Linked DNA regions of Homo sapiens: all the other regions are linked to region 1. The links are contacts of gene promoters, found by promoter capture Hi-C in blood cells and fetal thymus (Javierre and others, 2016). All regions are on one chromosome and are shown on one strand. The core of a region is centred on a gene start or on the middle of the fragment in contact, and the rest is flanking DNA. Distances in the headings are between cores, read along the strand shown.

Evidence for each region. Contacts are between HindIII fragments. The CHiCAGO score rates a contact against its expected background, and 5 or more counts as called.
Region 2: a fragment that was not itself captured here is called in contact with the fragment with the promoter of RNF125 in region 1 in 1 of 17 cell types (total CD8 T cells); the score reaches 6.8 in total CD8 T cells.
Region 3: a fragment that was not itself captured here is called in contact with the fragment with the promoter of RNF125 in region 1 in 1 of 17 cell types (naive CD8 T cells); the score reaches 5.4 in naive CD8 T cells.

Annotation. Positions count from the first base shown.
Region 1 is chr18:32,017,463-32,020,229 of GRCh38, forward strand. It overlaps RNF125 (ring finger protein 125), which reads left to right and starts at 1,363. Exons shown (of 6, transcript NM_017831.4): 1 at 1,363-1,565. The coding sequence starts at 1,402. RefSeq lists enhancers at 685-1,557, 964-1,258, 1,558-2,430, 2,075-2,124 and a silencer at 964-1,258. The HindIII fragment of the contact is 17,285 bases long and covers 1-2,767 here.
Region 2 is chr18:32,129,450-32,132,216 of GRCh38, forward strand. It overlaps RNF138 (ring finger protein 138), which reads left to right. Exons shown (of 8, transcript NM_016271.5): 8 at 1-2,112. Among named protein-coding and RNA genes, the nearest start is that of RNF138, 39 kb to the left of the region's middle. RefSeq lists a silencer at 2,603-2,767. The HindIII fragment of the contact is 2,037 bases long and covers 336-2,372 here.
Region 3 is chr18:31,908,473-31,911,239 of GRCh38, forward strand. It overlaps TRAPPC8 (trafficking protein particle complex subunit 8), which reads right to left. Exons shown (of 29, transcript NM_014939.5): 6 at 1,195-1,288; 7 at 282-538. Among named protein-coding and RNA genes, the nearest start is that of TRAPPC8, 33 kb to the right of the region's middle. The HindIII fragment of the contact is 2,641 bases long and covers 25-2,665 here.

The DNA.
Region 1 (2,767 bases), core at 113-2,612:
CTGACCTCAGGTGATCTGTCCTTCTTGCCTCCCAAAGTGCTGGGATTACAGGCGTGAGCCACTGCCCCGGCTTGGTTTGTTTTTTGAGACATGGTCTCACTCTGTCGCACAGGACGGAGTGCAGTAGTGTGATCTTGGCTCCCGTGCTCAAGTGATCCTCCCACCTCAGCCTCCCAAAGTGCTGAAATTACAGGCGTGAGCCACGGTACCCGGCCTATATCTCCTAATTAAAAGTAAAGCCTGGGTGAAGTTTATGGCCTGCTAAATACGTACATGTATTATATGCGTTATTATATCCCATGTGTTATATTATATATTATTGTATATGTGTATTATATACTATGTACTATTCTTACAACTGTATGTGAATCTATAATTATCTCAAAGTTTTGTTTTTGTTTTTTAAAGTAAGTTCTGTGAGAACTGGGATTTTGTTTGCTTGTTGACGATTGTGTCTTCATCACTAGAACCGAGTCTGGCGTGCAGTGGGCACTAAATAAGTCTTCGTAAAAAGTGTAAATTAACGCCCGGCTAATTTTTGTATTATTAGCAGCGACGGGGTTTCACCATGTTGGCCAGGCTGGTCTCGAACTCCTGCCCTCAAGCAGGAGTTTCAAGCCCGCCTCGGCCTCCCAAAGTGTTGGAATTACAGGCGTGGGCCACCGCGCCTGGCTGATCATGTTTAAAGGGCGGGGTGGGGAGCGTACAAACAACAGAGGAAATCCTGAGCCGCAGAGGAAACTGGAGATGGCAGGGTTTAGCACTAGAATCTCTGTAGGAGAGGTAAGATTGGAATCCTAATCTCCAGGACTCTTTCCACTACCCAGGCTATCTCTCCATTAATGGACTATTGATTGGATGACAGAGTAGCGATAGCACCGTCTTAGGAGACGCCCAATCATAGGTCATAGGTCATTTTTGCAGCTTATTGTGATGACAACAGTGGAGGATGGTCTTCCACTTCACCTTAAAAGCGGCTGTTCTCTGATTATCATTAAGCATGGCCACGCCCGCACTTAACTTCTGACAGTGGGGAAAGCAGCTGTGTGTGATAGCTTGGAAGGTTTACTGCTGCCTCAAGTCCTCTTCTCTGCAGTTGAGGTTTCAGGTTTCAATCCTCCCAATACCACAAGACAGAGCACGGGGCGGCTGCCGCCTCCGCCTCCGCGCCTTAACCTAGGCGGCTTGCCGAAGATCTCAGCCCCGCGGCCGCGCGCTCGCCCTGCCCTAGACCAGGGTTGGGCGCAGCGGCGGAGGTGGCTTCTGGGCTGCGCGAGCTGGGAGAGCTGGGAGGCGGCGATCGCAGCTGGGCCGGGACTTCCTTCCTCCACCGCACGGCAACAAAACAACCCTGCGGCAGGCACTGAGTGCTTCGCAGCTGTCTGGGCGAGAGGCACAGCGATGGGCTCCGTGCTGAGCACCGACAGCGGCAAATCGGCGCCCGCCTCTGCCACCGCGCGGGCCCTGGAGCGCAGGAGGGACCCGGAGTTGCCCGTCACGTCCTTCGACTGCGCCGTGTGCCTTGAGGTGTTACACCAGCCTGTCCGGACCCGCTGTGGCCACGTGTAAGTTCCAGGGGAGCTCGGTTTGCGCCCACCCCTAAGGAGGGCGATGTGGGGAAGCTGAGGGCATGGTGTGGGGAAGGAGGGGGACGGAAGACAGCCTCTTAGGAAATTGCTGCAGGGAGAAACCTGGACCCGTCGGATGCAGGACCACGGGGAAAACGCGGGTCGGAAGGTGACACAGGATTTCGGGAGGAGAAAAAATAAACAAGCGGGTCCTGTAGCCCCCTTGCGCTTTCAGCTCCCGAAGCCCAGGTGCGGAACTCCAGAGAAGGGGATCCAGGCACGGGTCCCGCCCAGAGCCAGGGCTCGCCAACTGGGGAGGGTGCTCTTGGCTGGAGAACCAGCGCTCGCCCAGGCACGGAAAGGAAACGAGCTCCAGCTACAAGGCAGGGGCTCCCGCAAAGCGCAGTTACCCCGCTGAACACGGTAGAACGGGCTGCGCTTCCCTCTGCCCCAGAAACCCGGGTCCGTTTTGTTTTGCTGGAGCTGTGCACGTGTTCCCAGAATGCCCACAGAGGCTCGTCTTAAGCAAACAAGGATCTGTGCAAAGTGTCTTTCCACCCCCACCCCTGCTACCCTTTCCCAACACAGACACCCAGCCCCTCAAAGGGCAAGTCAAACTGGAGCTTCCGAGTGACTTTCCACAGTTGTTAGAGTTTAACAACCTGCTAGGGTGGGGCTTGGACGTTAGCCGCCAAGCCCCTGAATGTACTCCTTCAAAACCCAGCCACAACGTAACAGGAGGTGGCAGGCTACCTGCTTTACGCACGGTCTCTCCAAACCGGCGGAAATTACAGAGTAAAATAACTTTCTCAAAACCGCATAGTACTTAGCTAAAACTCACAGTTGGTGCAAAGCCGTGGTCGTTTCTAAGAAGAATTTAAAAACAAAGTCCCTATATAAAATTGGCACATCCTTAATGTGTGTTTGAATAACTGGTGGAGTTGGAGCTGTGAATTTGTGCTCTCTGTTTACTGTGTGTGTGTGTGTGTGTGTGTGTGTGTGTTTGAGAGAGAGAGAGAGAGACGTAGTCTGGCTCTGTCGCCCAGGCTGGAGTGCGGTGGTGCTATCTCGGCTCACTGCAACCTCCGCCCACTGCAACCTCCGCCTCCCAGGCTCAAGTGAGTCTCCTGCCTCAGCCTCCCGAGTTGCTGGGATTACAGGCGCCCACCCCCACACCCGGCTAGTTTTTGAATTTTGAG
Region 2 (2,767 bases), core at 104-2,603, 110 kb after region 1:
TTATCTTTTTGTAATATTATTTTTGAATTTTTCATTATTATGTTGCTTTTGAAATTTGATGCATTCCTCCCATTTACTTTATTATTGTACACATTTAACACACAGTAGCAAATTTTGAACGATGTGATTGATATAACCTAACAAATCTGAGCCAGTTATTATTAGAGTTGCAGAATAGAAACTTGAAGTGCTAAATGGAATAATCCAAAGGAAATTTTTTAAATGCAGGTTCTAGCTGAAAAATTCAACTATAAGAAAATTGTATTTATATAACATTTACTATTTTTGAAGACTAGTGAGATTTCTGTAATAATTTTAATTCTTTAAAAAGTGAAAGCTTGTTGTAAAGATATTTTCTTTTTGTTATTAGAAGGAAATACAAAGAGAAAAATTTCTTTCTTTCATGGGCATTTGATAATTTCAGTCTTTGACTGATTTGTAAGCCTAGAATATACTAAGCTGAATAACAGCTCTTTGGCCTCAGAATTTTCAGTAGCCAGTATTTCTGATTAACTAAGTTGAAACTCTTATTAGAAACTTTCAGTTGGTGATATTGTATTCTAGAAGATATAAATGAGAGGTTTGGCTTCATCTCAGTTTAGAAATTTATTCAAAGCTAAAGATGTATATATACATATACTTTTGTGTGTATATATACACATATGTGTGTATGCAGTTTGTCAGGTTATATATAGAATTTCTATTAAGGATTTTTTAAATGGACAAGCAATAGGGGGTTGAAGTGTTTATCTGATTTGTTTAAAATTTTGTATATCACCAAATTTTTAAAAAGTGATAGTCACAGTGCTAAGTTATCTAGTTGGCTACTATTACACCTTAAAAATTGAGTTTACACACACACAATTACCTGTTTATATGGTGCTCATTTGTTATTCTCAAATATAATGTGTGACCGTGATATAGTGAGAAAGATTCTACCAACCACTGTTTCACTACTTTTTAGTTAAAATTGGGTATGTTCTTAATATTCATTAGTGAGAATCACAAAGTATTTTGTAGAAGGCCCAAATCACAGAATAAAGGACTAAGAGTGGATTTGCTGACATTCCATACTAATATACATTGTTTATGCTTTCTTTAAAATAACTAGAAGAACATAAAAGAAAGAGAATCTCAGAAGTAGTTTGCTGCTAATATATACATATATTGTATAAAAAGGTATATTTTGGTTTTGTTAAAACCCTTGTTGACTTTTCTACACTGAACATTTTTTTTAACTTGATTTAATAAAAATGTTAATTTTGGAAGTGCAGTTTTGTAAAAACCTTTTTCAGTCAAACAGTAAAGACTTTATTTATGGATTGTAATAACAACCACAAGAAAAGCCATACATCTTAATGAACATACGCCTTTGTTCTGTCATTTTAAAGAGTGGTGTTTACTATGTGTGTGCTTGAGCATTTTCTTTCAGTTACATGGGTGTAATTTAAAAAACAGCTCCTTTTTAAGACTTTTGACCATAGTGTTTTCCAGTTTAAAGCAATAACTTTCATAGTTTCTTTCAAAGTTTAATACATCCAATATGTCAAGTTAAACCATTCTGGGATTTGCAAAGTTTAATACATCCAATATGTCAAGTTAAACCATTCTGGGATTTGCAAAGTTTAATACATCCAATATGTCAAGTTAAACCATTCTGGGATTTGGGAACTTCTTTAAAGGAAAATTGTAGTAGAGGTCATCTTGATGGAATTGTGTTTTAAAGTTTTGTGAATGAGTTAAATATCATTGATAGTCTTGTGTGTCTCACATATCAGCTTTTTCATAAGGAAAATACTTTATTTGCTTTTATCTGAGAATTTCTCAGTATGAAAATGATTGTTTAAAATTTCCCCTCTTTTTGTCAGTGCATTGGGAATAGGGATAGACTTTACAGATTTATGGAAATTAAATTTATGGGGAAAAGTTTATTTTTAATATTACTTATAGCTGAGTCAGAATTAAAGGAGGGAATTGTATTGATACTCCAATACCTAAATTTCACAATACCACTTAGGAAAGCTATTTCAACAAATTACAGTTTTATTGTTAAAACAGAGTCTTATTTGAGATGTATTGCTTTATTTTTCAATTAAAAGTGGTTTTCTCCTACTTGTGTGTCTAATTAAAATTTGTCTGGAGGCAAACATTTAACTCTCATAATTCACACTGAAAGACGTAGGAGATAACCCATTATTTTGCACTTAAAAAAGTGGATAAGAAAAAGCTACCACATGCTGGTGCTATATGTCAGATTTAACTTTATAAACCTATTTATTTTTATCCATTTCAAATGTTAATCACCTTATAAAGCAATTTTATGAAGTGTCTGCGGAGCAAGATTTTCAAGCCCTGTTAGCAGCTAGGCAGAAAGCTTATTTGCTTAATAAACACTTTTATATGGAGATAGATAGTACTTTTAAGTAAGATACCAGGGTTATAAGACTATGTTGCCAAATACAATGTCATATACCTTGTATGGGTTGCTTGGTAAGTATTAATTATGATCTTCAATACATCATAACTTCTACAGAAACCCCTTAACAGCTGCTACTCAAACCCCTTGTAGAAGCGTGACTTTTTAGCATACTATGTAGAAAAGGTGTGACCCAGAAAACATGTAAATACAGATACTATAAAACTCAGACATATAAGTAAAGCACTCATTCCATGATATCACTTAGTGTGTAACATAATTATCTGTGCGGTACAGTTTTGAAAAAAGATGGGGAAGGGAGGTGAGTTAAAGGGGGATACAAGAATCTCA
Region 3 (2,767 bases), core at 95-2,594, 110 kb before region 1:
TACATAAAAAAATTTTAACTAAAAAGCTTTAATAGCAAATGTTCATTTTAATAAAACTGATTTAAAGAAAACTGTCCAATATGCTGGCAAAATCCTATTGAAAATGAATAAGCCTCTTCTAGAGTTGAACAGAATTTCATCATTGATAGTAATTTTGGGAAGTCTTAATATTGGCCTATCTTAAAACGAAAATAAAACAAAACTTCAAATACGTTTAATAATTCTTAAATTTACTATTTACTTAAATTTTTAAAATACTAATCCAAAAAATCAAACCTTACCTGATCGTTTAATTGCCTAATTGTTTTCTCTATATGTGGCAAAAGGCCCCGAAATGTGAACTCTTGTATAAACTGTCGAATTCTATCATGATCAGTAAGTGTTAAACATGCACCATGAATTATTCCAGTATTTCCTTTCTTTGTTTCATGTAACGATGAAGCAGATCTTAGATGATCTGGGCCATCAATACTGTTAGAAGGGTCACTGGATTGCTCCAACTGAAGTGGGTGAGCTCTAAAGTTATTTGGTAAGCCATCTACTGAAAAAGAGATTATTTCTTTTACTCTCAGAATGCAACAGAAAACAGTGCTAATACTACCATACTGCTAAAGAAAAAAAAAAAGCAGAATGTTAAAATCCTTTATCTTTCAGTATAGGTAAATGTCTAAGATAAAACAGCAGTAACATCCCCCAGCCCCAAAATTAATGAGCTTGAGTTAATATTTGTTTTGGTACCTGTATTAGTAATTTGAAAATCGGTATAAACCAGGAAATGGAGAAAAATACTTTATTTTAAATAATATAAAGAATGACTTTTAAATAGTACAACTAAGCCGTAAGAAAAAATATAACAAAAAAAATTTGTTATCATTACAAAAATCATAAAGTCAGAAATAAAGCTCTCAAAATCATGTAAATTTTTAAATAATTAATGCTGTGCATCACATCTTCCCTTGCTTTCTACAAAATATTTTAAAAGAAATCTATACACTACTCATATAAAACAAATTTTTAAGTGTCAAAAACAAACTCAAGTAGCTCAGTAAAATCTTCAGAAGAAAAACTAACCTGCCCAATATCTTTCTGTATTATGAAAAATTTCCCCCATCTTTTATCTATAAAGGTTAGCATGATCTGACAACAGTGCATATTTTCAATCAAAAGAGAAACTTAGAGAAAATATATCAAGACCTTTGACTTCGTTATCTAATCCATCCAATGAAAGCAAGTTATTATCAGAATTCTTATTTGAAGTTATAGTACAAGGGCCATCTTCATATGATTCCTATCAAAATAAAATTTAAAAAGCATTAGCAGTTATACTTAATCATACTTAATATACTATCAAATCCATCAACAACTATGGTTACTCTGCTAACTGTTGGCCTCATTTATTTGCTACAGTGAGCATTTTCTCGTCCTCCAAATTCATAACTTCTTCCATGGATCTTATTCTATCACTCCAACTCACACCTACTATATTCTTAAATCCCCTTTCACACTCAAGCTACTATCCTAATTCTTCTTAATTCAAATTATCTCTCAGGATATCTACTTATATATGATATGTATATACACGAGTGTTCATATAAGCACATACATATGCTTATGCCTCTTAAGTAAGGAATAATGGCAAGAGAGATGGACTACTAGAGTCAGACGGGGAAAGAAGAGAGGCACAGATATGAAATTCTTTGGGTCACAGTGTAAGCAGGTTGGAGTGAATTCTGAATATACTGAAGTGTTTTAGAAAAATATCTAACGCAACGTTTATTTGTGCAAAGGAACTGGTTTCTCAGTTAACAAAAAAACACTTAAACTAAAAATACCCAGACTACTCTACAAGACCAGTAAATATGATGTATTATTCTGAGTGTCACACTTTGAGGGAATTTACATAAACTAGAACTCAAGAAGAAAGTGACCAGGACAAGAAAGTCTGAAGCCACTCCTTGAGAAAGAGTTGCAGAAACTAGGCATATTTAGACTGGAAAAATATAAAAGAGGACATGAGAATTATCCTTCTATATTTTGAAAGTTGTCTTAATGGAAAACTAACATAGTCACTCCCAAAGGATCAAGCGTACAAGCAAAGGTCAAGAATTTTTTATTGATCCTTAAGCAAAATGAGAGAATTTTTGGGTGATCAGACATGCAATAGGTCACTTAATAAGAATACAGTGAGTACTGTCAACAGACGCAGTCATTCGTAAGTTTAAAGAAATTAAAGCATTAGATCAAGCATTGGATGTAAAACCTCTAAACTATTCTCCAACTTTGAGCTTCTAGGATGCTAAGGCATAGATTTCTGATATTTCTGCTTTCTGCTAAAAGTTCTCATACTGCACAATCTTCTTCATGTTCCCCTTCACAACCTTAGGTGACTGAACTCTAAAGTGTATTTTTTTCAGTACTGTTCTTATTCTTAGAATGGCCCCTAAAAGACCATTTTTAAAAATAAAGTTCCTTCACATCCAACTGGTACTTCTTTGCTTTTCCCCAGCATTATCTTAAAGAACGTCAGTAATCACCTCAATACTAAAGTCAGTAAAATACCATGATAGCACTACATTTAGATTTAAAGATTCCATTTATGAGACAGAAAAATAAAGCAAATAAACAGATTAAACAATACTTATATCAGAAGATCAAAAATTACATAAGCTTTGTAATTGATTTTTTAAATGTCACACACAGAGTGCATAATATAGTTTAATTGAACAATATAAATATATTTTCCATTTACTTAAGAATTTCTAGGCCA